Regions from separate parts of the Homo sapiens genome. Here region 2 is linked to region 1. The links are contacts of gene promoters, found by promoter capture Hi-C in human tissues and cell types (Jung and others, 2019). All regions are on one chromosome and are shown on one strand. The core of a region is centred on a gene start or on the middle of the fragment in contact, and the rest is flanking DNA. Distances in the headings are between cores, read along the strand shown. Region 1 holds the start of TNNT1 (troponin T1, slow skeletal type). Region 2 overlaps NLRP9 (NLR family pyrin domain containing 9).

Region 1 (4,208 bases), core at 268-2,767:
TCCTGGATCTGAGGGAGGAGGGGCCAGGGGCCTGGACGCCTGGGTCTGAGGGAGGAGGGGCCGCGGGCCTGGACGCCTGGGTCTGAGGGAGGAGGGTCTGGGGGCCTGGCCTCCTGGGTCTGAGGGAGGAGGAGCTGGGGCCTGGACTCCTGGATCTAAGGGAGGAGAGGCTGGGAGTCTAGACTCCTGAGTCTGAGGGAGGAGCGGGCTGGGGGCCTGTACTCCTGCGTCTGAGGGAGGAGGGCTCAGGTCTGGACTCTTGGGTCTGAGGGAGGGGGCCGGCTGTCCTAAAGCATGCATGAGGACAGACCTTGGTAGGTGTGGTCCTGGCACAGCCAGGAGGCTGCAGACCCTGCCCCCTCAGCACAGCTGTCCTCTTTTGTCTTATGACAAGTCCATGGGAACCTGATCCAGTTGGGATTAGGAAGAGGCATTTGAGAAGGGACAGTGGCCTGAAGACAATAGCTGCCCCACCCCCAGGAGCTATTTTGGGGGGATGTCATAGATGGTGAAACCGAGGACATTTCCTAAGAAGGGATTTGAGGAAGGGGGGCTTCTGGGAGAATTAGTCACCCGCATCCCCTCTCCCACTCGCCCCACCCCACTGGCTGGTTTCCTCCCCACCTGTCTCCCCTTTCACCTTCCCATACATCACGTAGGGGGCAGGGGCATAAAGGGCACCTTCTGTCCGTAGACCTCACCCTGACCCCTACATTCTTAGACCTCAAAGTCTTTGAGACACCCTAGGCCACAGGGTGCCTAGCCCCAAATCCCAATACCCACAGATTCTGAGACCCCGATTTATGATGCCCGTGTTTCTGAGGCCAGCAAGTCCTCACAGCTCTGGATTCTGAAATCCCAGTTCTTGATAGTCCAGATATGGGCCGGGACATCCTAAGACCACCCCCAGGTCTTGAGACCTCCTAAAATCTGAAACCTCAAGAATATGAGACCCCCAAAATCTTGATACCCAAACTCGGAGGCCCAGTTCATGATACCCCAGATAATGGCACTCTAAGTTTTCATGCTTTCTATCATAATGTCTCAGATTCCGAGCCCTCCACTACCAAAACCCCAATTTCTTCTGAGACCCCCCCAATTCCTGATACCCTCAGAGTCTGAGGCCCCAAATCCTGACACCCAGATTGTTTGACCTCCAAGTCCAGATATCCCTGACTGCTGAGATTTCCCCCAGATTCCCAGAACCCCAAGATCCTAGGAGGTTTTATTCTGGGACATCCAAGTCCTGGCAGCCCCGGGTTAGGATTTGTGTAACCCACAAATCCTAGTATTTTCCCCTCTATCCTGAGTCCCCCTAAAGTCTGAGCCTCTCAAGTTCCCAGACCTCCAGTTGTATGCCCCACCTACCTCTGCACCATTTCTCCACACCCGACATCTTCCCCACCTGCCTCCTGCCCCCTCCCCCAAGGACATGGTTTTTGAAGACCACAGGGCTCCGCAGAGCCCCTTACCTAGGCTGTGTCTGAGATGCTGTGAATCTTGAGGCTGAGCCTTGCTGAGGGCACTGAAGCTCCGGGGAGTTTATAGCTGGAGGCTCGGGCCCGCCCCGAGGGGAGAGGGAGGGGGAGAGAATTCCTTTGCTCAAACACAAGCCTGGGAGTTCAGAGACAGCCCTGCTGCCCCTGGCTCCACACTCAGAGTCCAGAAGCCTCCGTGGGCCCCTCCCCAACCCCATGCCAACCCCATCTGCATGGCCCAGGAGCCCCGCCCCTGCTCCCACCCCACACCCCAGGCTCCCGTGGTGCTCCAACTACCTCCCTTATAGCTCCCTGTGCTTTGACGTCCCCATGCCCGGCACACAGTAGGTCCTTGGAGGACCTACTAATGACACATGGGCTATAAGGAATGTTTCCTGTTTTCTTCTCTCTGTTCCCTCTTTCTATCTAGGTCTCTTTCTGGACCCCCATTTCTGTTGTCTCTGTGGCTCTCCATCTGTGTGTCTCTGTGTGTCTGTCTCTACTTCTTAGTCTCCTCCTCTGTCTCTGTCCATCTTTTTGTCTCCTCCTCCCACCCCCACCCCTTTGTCTGCCGCCAGGATTCCATCCTGGTGACAACAGGCACTAAAGCCGGGAAGCAGGTGTGGGGAGGGGGAGGGGGAGGGTGGGGTGTCAATTAGGGTGAAACCTACCCTCCCTCCCCACCTCCATCTAACGCTGATCTTTTTTGGTATCCCCCTCCCGCTTCCCAGCCAAGCCATGACCTTGAGTTCTAGGTTCAAGCCAGCCCTGGAGAGCAGGCTTCCTCACCCTCCCCGCCTCTCCGTACCTCTGTCTCTGGTGGTCTCGGTCTTTGTGTTTCTGTGCATTTCTCGGGGCCCCTTGCTGGGTCTGTCTTGGGCTCTCTCTGCATCTGTCGCTTTCTGAGCCCCTCAGTGTGTTTCTCGGCATGTGTCTCCGGGTGGTTTTGTCTCTGCATTTCTGTGGGTGTCTCTGCATGTCTGCCCCTCTCAGCGTTTGTGTCTGTGGGGGCTCACAGTCTCTCTGTGCATTTCTGTCCACCTATGACCCCATTTCTGTCTCTTTTTGGCTCTGGGTCTCTGTGTCTGTGTTCACGTCTCTATCTTTCTAGTTCTCTCCATGTCTCTCTTAGTGCCCGCAGTTCCCCCTCTGTGGCTCTCCATTTCCATCTCTTATAGGGTCTCCATGTCTCTGCACCTTGCTGTGAGTATATCTCTGTCTCTCTTTTCTCCTTTCTTTGCACTTCCTTCTATGCATCTTGTGGTATTTTCTCCCTCTCTCTTTGGGTCTTTGCCTGGCTCCTACTCTCTCTACTCCCAACTCAGTCTCTCTGTTGTCGGTCATGTCTCTCTGCCTGTCTGTTTCTCTGTGTCTCTCTCTCTTTGACCTTTAGTCTTGGCATCTCTGTGCACTCCACATGGGCCAGAGGAGCTGTGACAATAGAGATCAGAAGACTGATGGAATGAACTGTTTGTGGCAATAAGATACCAAATTATAAACAAGACCTAAGGCCATGCCAGGCAAGGGTTAAGCCACGCATCCCTACACTTATATAATCGACTATGTTCCAACTGCCACAAGGCTTTTCCTTTTTCTAGCAGCTAAACAAGCACCGGCCTCAAGATAAGCAATATTACAACCATTGCAGCCATCCATTGCCAGATGCTGACTAGCTGAACCCCCTGTTCCACAAGGCATAACTACAGCATTAGTTGAACAAGAGACTGATTTCAGTAACTTTCTCCTGATAAGATGCCGCAGACCACGGACTGGTTCTGGCTGTTGACAGAGGCTGTGCACTGAGTGTCTTCATATCCCTGCTTCGTGTTTCGATACGAATGCATTCAATGGAATGCACTTAAATGTTAAGCCTCCACCACCAAGTGAAGGTGGGATGCATGTAAAATGTGTTTGCGGCCAGTCGCGGTGGCTCACGCCTGTAATCCCAGCACTTTGGGAGGCCAAGGAGGGCGGATCACGAGGTCAGGAAATCGAGACCAGCCTGGCCAACATGGTGAAACCCCGTCTCTACGAAAAACACAAAAATTAGCTGGGCGTGGTGGTGCATGCCTGTAATCCCAGCTACTGGAGAGGCTGAGGCAGGAGAATGGCTTGAACCCAGGACGCAGAGGTTGCAGTGAGCTGAGATCGTGCCACTGCACTCCAGCCTGGGTGACAGAGCAAGACTCCGTCTCAAAAAAAAAAAAAAATGAGTGTTTGCTTGTCACACATGCGTGTGTCCATGTGTCCACCTGTCCATGAATATTCATAGCTCCTTCTATAACCAGTTGAATACGTGCACTTAGCTAACCCACTCAGCATAAATTCCTGCCTTGCCCTTCCCTCCCTTAAAGTGCCTGCTTTTGTTTTTTGGCAAGAAGCCATGCTTCTGGTCTTCAGGTTGTGATCCGCTTCTTAAGAAACAAAGCTCCGCTCTCCAAATTCATGAACCCCGGGATTCTTTTCAATAACACAGCCAAGAGTGCTTCACATGGGAGACCCATCTGGTCCCCAACCTGCTGTGTGGCTTTGGGGGAGCCCCACCTGCAGTCTTCCCATCTGTCTCCTGCCTAAGCCCTGGGTAATAGACATGGAGTCACTTTCAGCTCAGAGAGAAGCTTTATTCCTCAGGGCCCTCCTCAGGGCAGGGGCAGTAGGCAGGAAGGCTCAGCTCTCAAACTTTTTCTTGCGGCCCTCCATTCCACTCAGTGCATCGATGTTCTTGCGCCA
Region 2 (4,208 bases), core at 317-2,816, 570 kb after region 1:
CCTAAAACTTAACCCAATCCTGACACTTCCCAGAGGAGCTAGACACAGAGTTGATCGATTATGCCTGTGTGATGAAACCTCCATAAAAATCCTACAAGAATGTGGTTCAGAGAGCGTCCAGGTTGGCAAACACATCCACACGCCACGCCCCAGCTCCACAGGGACAGATGCTCCTGCACTCGTGTGGGGAAAAGAATGAGAGATCAGATTGTTACTGTGTCTGTGTAGAAAAGGAAGACATAAGAAACTCCACTTTGATCTGTACTAAGAAAAACTGTTCTGTTTTGAGATGCTGATAATCCATAACTTTAGCCTCAACCCTGTGCTCACAGAAACACGTGGTTTAATGGATTTAGGGCTGTGCAGCATGTGCCTTGTTAACCATATGTTTGCAGGCAGTATACTTGGTAAAAGTCATGGCCATCCTCCAGTCTCGATTAACCAGGGACACAATGCACTGCGGAAAGCCGCAGGGACCTCTGCCCGAGAAAGCCTGGGTATTGTCCAAGGTTTCCCCCACTGAGACAGCCTGAGATATGGCCTCATGGGAAAGGAAAGACTTTACCATCCCCCAACCCGACACCCGTAAAGGGTCTGTGCTGAGGAGGAGGAGTGAAAGAGGGAGGCCTCTTTGCAGTTGAGATAAGAGGAAGGCTTCTGTCTCCTGCTGGTCCCTGGGAATGGAATGTCTAGGTGTAAAGCTGACCATTCCCATTCATTCCATTCTGAGATAGGAGAAAATTGCCCTGTGGCTGGAGGCGAGATATGCTGGCAGCAATACTGCTCTGTGACTCTTTGCTACACTGAGATGTTTGGATGAAGAGAAACATAAATCTAGCCTACGTGCACATACGGGCACAGTACCTTTCCTTGAACTTATTCATGATACAGATTCCTTCGCTCACATGTTTCTCTGCTGACCCTCTCCCCACCTGTTGCCCAGCCACATTCCCCTCGCCAAGATAGTAAAAATAGTGATCAATAAATACTGAGGGAACTCAGAGACCAGCGCCAGTGCGGGTCCTCGCACGTTAAGCGTCTGTCCCCTGGGCCCACTGTTCTTTCTCTATACTTTGTCTCTGTGTCTTGTTTCTTTTCTGAGTCTCTCATCTCCACCTGACTAGAAATACCCACAGGTGTGGAGGGGCTGGCCCCCTTCACACTCAGGACCCTTCCAGATCTCATCCTGTGTGTCTATCTGGCTGCACATCTGTATTTTTCAGATCATTTATTAAATTGAGAGTCAGATCCCAGCTGCACATCTGTATCTTTCAGATCATTTATTAAATTAGGTGAGAGTCAGATCCCACACGGTAGGAGCTCAGTCCCACAAGATCACCCTTGACTTCAGATGCCAGTTGCAAGCGCTGGGTTGCTCTGCCTGTGTTTGACCAACCGGCTATACATGGGGGTTCCCCTGACCCCTTCCTTGGGTTAGACTGATTTGCTAGAGTGGATCACAGACCTCAGGAAAACAATTACATTTCATAAATGATTGCTTGAGCTCAGGAGGCAGAGGCTGCAGTGAGCTGAGATCCCACCTCAGCCTCCCAACTAGCTGGGATTACAGGCACCTGCCACCACACCCGGCTAATTTTTGTATTTTTAGTAGAGACGGGGTTTCACCATGTTGGCCAGGGTGATCTCGAACTCCTGAGCTCAAGTGATCTGCCCGCCTCGGCCTCCCAGAGTGCTGGGATGACAGGTGTGATCCGCCATGCCCGGCCCGGCCCCTGGCCACCTTCAGATCTGTCTTCTCCATCCCGCTCAAAGGGCAATGCATATGCAAGTGTTTATGCATGGATTGTTTGCTCTCCATTGTGATAATTTTTTAAAAGCTCCTCAGTCTTTTGACTTTTTATTAATTATTGCATGCCTGTATCTAATTATCTTCTGTGCCGCATAGAAAGCTCCTCATTCTTCAAGCCTCTCGATTGAAACTATGATGGGGATCTCTCCTGTCAGACCAAGAGGAAATGGGAGAGAAGATGTAGCAGAAGCCATATTTAAAGATAGAGATCATGGTAAAATGTTCTCAGAAGCCTGTGCAAATGTTCATCCACAAATGCAGGAAGCTCAGTGAATTTTTAAGCAGGATAAACACAAAGAAATACCAAAACCACACACAATGGGGGTGGGAGGGGAAACTTAAAATTAGCCAGAGACAAGACACATTAAGCACATTGCCTACAATGGGACGAAATATACTGATTTATTTAGAAAAAGCATGGCAGCCTGAATGGGATGGAATTACATCTTTAACATGTAAAAGAACAAAAGAAAGAAAACAGTGAAAGAAAACCTACAATTCTCTGATGTGTGGGGGAAAAAAATCTACAAAAATAAAATCAAAACAGATATTTTTGGTCTCAAATACACCGTGGTCATCTGGTTTATAATGATAACTACTGTTGTTCACTTGAGAAAAAGTGGTTTTTCAACAGCATTCTGTGTTCATATGTGAATTTTTTTTAAACCTGACTTTATACTACATAGAAACACTTACTCAAAGTAGGTCATAGCCCCACTTGTGCATGGTACAATAAGACTTTGAGAGAAAAATGCACAGGAAGTTATTCTTATGACTTTGGGCTTGGAAACAATTATTTTCTTTTGAGACGTGGTCTCACCCTGTCACTCAGGTTACAGTGCAGTGACGTGATGACAGCTCACTGCAGCAACCTTGGACCTTTGGGCTCAAGAGATCCTCCTGCATCAGCCTGATGAGTAAGCCGTGACTACAGGCATCCACCACCATACCTAGATAATTTTTTTGTTTTGTTTTTAGAGACGGGAGTCTCACTATGTTGCCCAGGCTGGTCTCCAACTCCTGGCCTCAAACAATCCTCCTGCCTCAGCCTCCCAAACTGCTGGGATCACAGGCATGAGCCACCAAGCCTGGCAATGATTCCCTAAACACACACAAAAAGCAGCTGAACACGAAAAGACACATTCAGTTTTGATAAAGAATCTCTCTTAATTCAAAGATGATATTAAGAATGTGGAAAACCAAACCACATAGAAGATATTTGCAATGCATGTATTTGACCTAGGATTCATTCCGCAATATAAGAAAAACACCTGTCAATCAATTAGAAAAAGACAGCCCAATAAAACAATGGGCTACATCAGCACATCAAACAGACATATCACAACAGGAAGCCCAGAAAGTCAAACAAATGAAAAGGCGCTCATATTATTAGTCATTAGAGAAATGCAAATTAAAACCACTCAGATATTATGCCCGAAGCAGAATGGATTTGAAAAGATCAACACCCTTAAGTGTTGGGGAGAAAACGGGACAAGTGGAACACATTCATTTCATAGGCAAATAATCTGGTGAAGCCTCTGGTTAAAAGATACTGATTAAGTCTAGTTTCACTGGAAGTTTCATAAAAGCATATTTTTAAAAACAGCTTTGTACATTTCATTAGTAAAGTTTCCTAGTTTTAAGAATGCACTATTGTTATGTAAGATGTTACCTTTGGTGGAAGTTGGGTGGTGATTGGTATATGGGACTTCTCTGTACTATTATTGTAATTTCCTGTGAGTATAATAATCTTTCAATAAAAAGTAAACAACAATGACAAAGTAAAATGGCTGATGTGGAGAAACAGGTGTTTGTCATAAGGGTTTCCAGATACACACGAATTAAGGTGTGGTATCCATAAAAATGTTTGTCCAGGGCCACTGCACAGTATTAGATGTTTTTTTCCTAGTACAAGAGCCCCTGGGTTGGATTTAGGCAAATACCCCATTCTGTTTTAGCCAAGCTGACCCCCTCCCACCACCAGAAGAGAAGCATCACTCTAATCTCTCCTAGGGCACTTCACAGGCTAGCACTCAGTAGTCCAGTACTAGATAATCCTTTGTTGTTGGGGAGCTGTCCTGTACATTACTGGGTATTTAGCAGCATCCTTGGTGATATGGTTTGGCTCTGTGTCCCCACCCAAATCTCATCCTGTAGCTCCCATAATTCCCATGTGTTGTGGGAGGGACCCAGTGGAAGATAATTAAATCACAGGGGCGGGTCTTTCCCAGGCTGTTCTCCTGACAGTGAATATGTTTCACAAGGTCTGATGGTTTTATAAAGGGGAGTTTCCCTGCACAAGCTCTTTTCTCTTGTCTGCCGCCATGTGAGATGTGCCTTTCACCTTCCACCATGATTGTGAGGCCTCCCAAGCCACATCGAACTGCAAGTCCAATAA

Evidence for each region. Contacts are between HindIII fragments. The study calls those that stand out against the background at their distance.
Region 2: a fragment that was not itself captured here is called in contact with the fragment with the promoter of TNNT1 in region 1 in 1 of the 25 tissues and cell types used here (neural progenitor cells).

The regions. Positions count from the first base shown.
Region 1 is chr19:55,147,689-55,151,896 of GRCh38, forward strand. TNNT1 (troponin T1, slow skeletal type) reads right to left here and starts at 1,518. Exons shown (of 14, transcript NM_003283.6): 1 at 1,473-1,518. TNNI3 (troponin I3, cardiac type) reads right to left here. Exons shown (of 8, transcript NM_000363.5): 8 at 4,079-4,208. The coding sequence ends at 4,146. The HindIII fragment of the contact is 19,018 bases long and covers 1-4,208 here.
Region 2 is chr19:55,717,726-55,721,933 of GRCh38, forward strand. All of the region lies in intron 4 of NLRP9 (NLR family pyrin domain containing 9), which reads right to left. Among named protein-coding and RNA genes, the nearest start is that of NLRP9, 19 kb to the right of the region's middle. The HindIII fragment of the contact is 6,338 bases long and covers 1-4,208 here.